Linked DNA regions of Homo sapiens: region 1 is linked to region 2. Evidence: promoter capture Hi-C in 16 types of primary human blood cells and fetal thymus (Javierre and others, 2016). All regions are on one chromosome and are shown on one strand. Each heading gives the region's core, a stretch centred on a gene start or on the middle of the fragment in contact. The rest is flanking DNA. Distances are from core to core; before and after follow the strand shown. Region 1 has its middle 14 kb from the start of PAFAH1B1. Region 2 holds the start of METTL16 (methyltransferase 16, RNA N6-adenosine).

The links. The method cuts DNA at HindIII sites, captures the fragments that hold promoters and counts their contacts. A CHiCAGO score of 5 or more calls a contact.
Region 1: a fragment that was not itself captured here is called in contact with the fragment with the promoter of METTL16 in region 2 in 1 of 17 cell types (endothelial precursors); the score reaches 5.5 in endothelial precursors.

The regions. Positions count from the first base shown.
Region 1 is chr17:2,578,375-2,581,183 of GRCh38, forward strand. No RefSeq gene overlaps it. Among named protein-coding and RNA genes, the nearest start is that of PAFAH1B1, 14 kb to the right of the region's middle. The HindIII fragment of the contact is 2,234 bases long and covers 390-2,623 here.
Region 2 is chr17:2,510,467-2,513,274 of GRCh38, forward strand. METTL16 (methyltransferase 16, RNA N6-adenosine) reads right to left here and starts at 1,422. Exons shown (of 10, transcript NM_024086.4): 1 at 1,293-1,422. RefSeq lists enhancers at 1,293-1,502, 1,573-1,622. The HindIII fragment of the contact is 19,706 bases long and covers 1-2,808 here.

The DNA.
Region 1 (2,809 bases), core at 257-2,756, 68 kb after region 2:
GGTACAAATAGGGAGGATAACTGTTGTATACAACATAATGTGGTAGTTAAGAACAAGTTGATTTCTGCAAATGGTGCTGGAACAATTGGATATTAATATGTAAGAAAGGGAACCATGATCCATAATGTGTACCATATACAAAAATGAACCTGAAATGAATCATACCCCTAAATTTAAACTTAAAGCTATAAACTTTCAGAAGAAAATATTTATAACTTATGGACAGGCAAAAATTTCATAGATAAGACACACAAAAAACATGAACCGTAAAAAATGTTTCAATTAGACTCAATAAATGAAAACCTCTGCCCTCCAAAAACACTGTTAAGAAAATGAAAAGACAAGACACAAATTGAAAGAAAATATTTTAAAAACACACATCTGATAAAAGCTTTGTATCCGGGGCTGGGTGTGGTGGCTCACATCTGTAATCCCAGTGCTTTGGGAGGCTGAGGCGGGCAGATCACTTGAGGCTAACAGTTCGAGACCAGCCTGGCCAACATAGTGAGACCTCCCCCCATCTCTATTAAAAATTAAAAAAAGGAAAAAAGTGGGCAAAATATATAAATAGATCTCCACTAGGTAAGAGAAAAAGATGGCAAGTACATGAAAAAAAGTTCAATGTCATTAGCCATCGGGTGCAAATTAAAACCATAATGAGATACCACCACGTACTTATTAGAGTGGTTAAAATAAAAATAAGCCGGGCGTGGTGGCACATGCCTGTAATCCCAGCACTTTGGGAGGCCAAGGCGGGCGGATCACGAGGTTCACACGGTGAAACCCCGTCTCTCCTAAAAAAATACGAAAAAAATTAGCCGGGCATGGTGGCAGGTGCCTGTAGTCGCAGCTACTCGGGAGGCTGAGGCAGCAGAATGGTGTGAACCCGGGAGACGGAGCTTGCAGTGAGCCGAGATTTTGCCACTGTACTCCAGCCTGGGTGACAGAGCGAGACTCCGTCTCAAAATAAATAAATTAATTAATTAAATTAAATAAATTCATAATACGAAATGTTGTAGAGGATACAGAATAACTGGAAGTTTCATACATATACATTGCAAGTGGGAATGTGAAAAGGGTACAGCCACTTTGGAAAATAGGCAGTTTACTATATTTTTAAAGTTATTATTATTATTATTATTATTATTATTATTATTATTATTATTTTGAGATAGGCTCTTGCTCTATCTCCCAGGCTGGGGTGCAGCGGCAGGATCACAGCTTACTACAGCCCTGACCTTCTGGGCTCAATCAATCCTCCCACCTCAGCCTCCCGAGTAGCTGGGACTACAAGTGCACACCACCATGCCCAGCTAATTTTTGTCTTTGTTTCAAAGAGCTGGGGTTTTGCTAGCCCTGGTCTCCAACTCCTGGGTTCAAGTGATCAGCTCTCCTTACCCTCCCAAAGTGCTGAGATAACAGGTGTGAGCCATTAGCCAGGCATAATGACCCATGCCTGTAATCCCATATACTTGGGAGGCTGAGGCATGAAAATCGCTTGAACCCGGGAGGCAGAGGTTGCAGTGAGCCGAGATCGTGTCACTGCTTTCCAGCCTGGGCAACAGAGCAAGACTCCGTCTCAAAAAAAAAAAAAAAAGAAAAGAAAAGAAATGACAAAGATTGCTTTGCTGGTCCTGGTTCCAGATGCTTTCAGGACCCTGCTGCATACCTGTCCATCAGTGCTATGAAAGCACCTCTCTATCCTTTCAAAACTGCCCTTTTTTTTTCCCTTAGGCTCACTCAAATGGGTTTCTGTTCTTTAGAACCAAAGAGTCCTACCTACCACAATAGAGGTAAAAAGAGTTATCATGGAGTAGAAAGACAAGTCTTGGACCCAGCCCATGGGGACTGAGAAGCAGAGCTGACTTTCTTGGCAATGGGTGCTGTGAGCCAGAGACGGAATCCTCCCCTCTTCTGTTCCTTATAAAATAAATCGCATGAAAGGTTTAGGCCAGCTGAGTGAACATTAGCTATACAAAGTGAACAAGGGAGGGTATTATCCAGGTTAAACTATCATTTGTTTCCAGCTGGGAAGGAGCAGAGAGGAGAAACTGGGAGGAAGAAAAGGCAGTGGAGGAGGGGAGGAAAAAAACTGACATGATATCGTGCCAGAAAATGCTTATATATTCACATTTGGAGGCTTCTTACCTTCGGATGAAAAATGCTGGTCAATTGCCAGGTATTTGTTTGTAAATTAGGAATTTATAGTACATTTAAGTTTACTGTAAATAAATGAACCTTCCATAAAATCAGCTTTCTGACACATTTCCAGACATTTCTCCAAAGCAGCCCATGAGAAATCCTGACTCTCTTTACCAGCAGAATTAAATAGGAGTTTTAGTTTCTCTGCCATGTTCCTGCCTTTGCCGTTAGCTGGGATGAACAGAATGAATGATGCACAGAGGCGGGTGAGACAATGGGGCTGATTCATGGTTTGGGAAAACAGGGAATTGTCACAGAGCTAACACTGGCCCTCCTTTTTGCCGAGGACACTGCAATGTTTAGCTGAAAGCATCTTGCTTGGATTCTTCCAACCACTGGGTAAGCGTCTAAATGAGAAAAGCAATATGGGGCTCCCAGGATCCCTGGGGACGCTTAAAACAATCCTGAGATACCCTGGCAAAGCTTGTGATCTTTGTAAACAAGCAGAGAGATGTTTTTCAAACAGCTGTTAATTTCATTAAGAAGCCTAATTTTAAGGTCCCAGAACAGGCATTTCTTTTTATGCCAGGATCATCTCTGAGTTTTATATTTGCATGCAGTCCTGGTAGCTTAGCTTGGATGTCAGTGTTAGTTAAGCTTACATTTG
Region 2 (2,808 bases), core at 172-2,671:
CTCTGAATATATGTGAAACAAATTAAATTACAGACATGGCAGATTCGATTCATTTCCTACATTATTCAACTTTTCTGGTCAGAACAGATACAGAATGAGTAAATACAACCACTTCTTTTCTAACTAACCTCCCAATATAGGCAATGAGTTCTTAGCTAAATATAACCTATTCTTCAGAGTTTAACTGGGCATCAATTCTTTTTTTTTTCTTCTTGTTGAGACAAGGTCTTCCATTCTGTTGCCCAGAGTGCAATGATGGAATCATAGCTCCCTGCAGCCTCCAACTCCTGAGATCAAGCAATCCTCCCGCCTGAGCCTCCCAAGCAGCTGGGACTACAGGTACAGAGCACTGCACCTGGTTAATTTACTTCATTTTTTGTAGAAAGGGAGTCTGGCTTTGCTACCCAGGCTCTAGCTTCAATTTTCTACACAGAATTTACCCATCTGGCATTCCATATATTTTACTTACTTTAAAAAATCTCCCGTCAGTAAGTTTCAAGAGGGTAAATATTTTGTCTGTCTTGTTCACCGCATATCCCAACGCCTAAAATAGGGCCTAAGAGAGTAGGCACTCAAGTATTTGTTGATTGAAACCACGATAGAACTCTTCCCTGTCTGGACCACCGACACAAAGCACCCTCACTGAGTTTCAAAAAAAGCTCAGCCCATGGACTGGAACTTTTCTTCCCGGTTACTTGAGTCAGTCCAGAAAGCCACAGTTAATAGTAGAACCCTGAGAATGAGGCTTTCCCTTTTTTTTTTTTTCTTTCTCATCTCCATGCTTCTGTTTCCTTGGTTCCTCTTGACCATTAACCCTCTTCAACTACCACTCTCTTGATACACAGCCTGTAAAACAGTCTAAATTCCAATTTCAGAACTTCAAATTCTTTCTGCACAGATCCCTCCCACTTCCACACCAATCTACATCTTCTCTCTTCGCCTTCTCTCATAAATCCGACGTTTCCCACTAGTCCTGCCACTGCCGTTCTTTCCATGCCCTCATTTTATCAGCTCAGTTTGTCTTCCCGCCTCAGTTTTGGATCTCTCTAAACCTCCTAAACACCGGGGAGTCTTTCCTACTTCAGTCCTAGTCTCTATTCTATTCGCCAACTCCTCCCACTCATCCACTCTCAACACCCCCGCGTGCGCACACACAGCCACATCAGGTCTCCCCTCCTAGACCCCGAAGTCGGCACCTCACTAGCCCAAAACTCAAGAATGAGGAACCCGTGTGATCCACGGGTTAAGTGACCCATGATAGTAAATCTGCGTGAGAGATATAAGTGACCCACCTCTGAGGCCGAGGTTCCTGCCAGACGTCGTGTCTGGCGTGGGCCTGTACAACCCTAGAATCTTAAAGCAGCCGCATAGCGAAGCTCCTAGAAACGCAGATGATACGCTCCCAGCGCGCCGCCATCTTGTGAAGCCATCTAGCCTCGTGATTGGACACATCCCTCTCGCGCGACCTGTGGCTGATCTTGAAGAAAGAAGAAACCCTCGCGACACCTGGGGTTTGCTGCTCCTAACAGAAGGCGCGGGGGCGTGGTGACGAGCGGAGTCCTTTGAGGTATGGCAGGAGGAGGACATGCGTTCGAATTCGCGAGAAAACTTATTTAAAAGAAAAAGAAACAAGTTTTCCGGGCCCTGCTGCAGACTTACCTCTCACACTCACTGGGATTGGGCAGGTTATGAAGATGAGGGTACGAGACTTGGGTGTGATGGCGTGCAGTGAGCCCTTTTTGTGCAACAGGTGTGTCCTCAGCCGATGTCTCACTCACTGAATTGTAAGAGATATAAGCCTGTGGGTTGGGGAAGAGTACTCTCGTTTACAGCGAAAGAACTGAGGATCCGGCCGGACGCGGCGGCTCACGCTTGTAATCCCAGCACTTTGGGAGGCTGAGGCGGGCAGATCACCTGAGGTCAGGAGTTCAAGACCAGCCTGGACAACATGGTGAAACCCCGTCTCTACTAAAAATACAAAAATTAGCCGGGCGTGGTGGCGGGCGCCTGTAATCCCAGCTACTCGGGAGGCTGAGGCAGGAGAATCGCTTGAATCCGGGAAGCGGAGGTTGCAGTGAGCCAAGATCGCACCACTGCACTCCAGCCTGAGCGAAAGAGCAAGACTCTGTCTCAAAAAAAAAAAAAAAAGGGGGGGCCTGCCTACGTCCTCGTCGTTAATGTGAACGCTTCTGGCAAACTATTACCATAAAATTGGGAGATAGTAAGGATTAAGGAATGGAGACTTATACACAAGTGAGTACCAGTAGTCACCCAAGGAAAGCTGAGGAGGTGTTTTCATAATCTGTTGTGTAACAAACCGCCCCAAAACGTAAGACTTAAAACAACCACCATTTTACTTGCTCACAGTTCTGCAATCTGGGCTGGGATTAGCCCACCCGTTCTGCTGGTCTTGCCAGTGGTCATAGCAACAAGTGGGGGCTGGTTCCGCTGAAAGAACTGGGTCTCTCTCCCTGTAGTCCAAGTTCTCTCCCTGTCCACGTGGCCTTTCCATGTAATTTGTCTAGCAGAGTAGGATGACATTTTTTTTTTCCCCCGAGATGGAGTTTCTTATTGCCCAGGCTGGAGTGCAATGGCGCCATCTCGGCTCACTGCATGCAACCTCTGCCTCCTGGGTTCAAGCGATTTTCTTGCCTCAGCCTCCCAAGTAGCTGAGTAGCTGAGATTACAGGCGCCCGCCACCATGCCCAGCTAATTTTTTGTATTTTTAGTAGAGACGGGGTTTCATCCTGTTGGCCAGGCTGGTCTCAAACTCCTGACCTCAGATGATCCACCCGCCTCGGCCTCCCA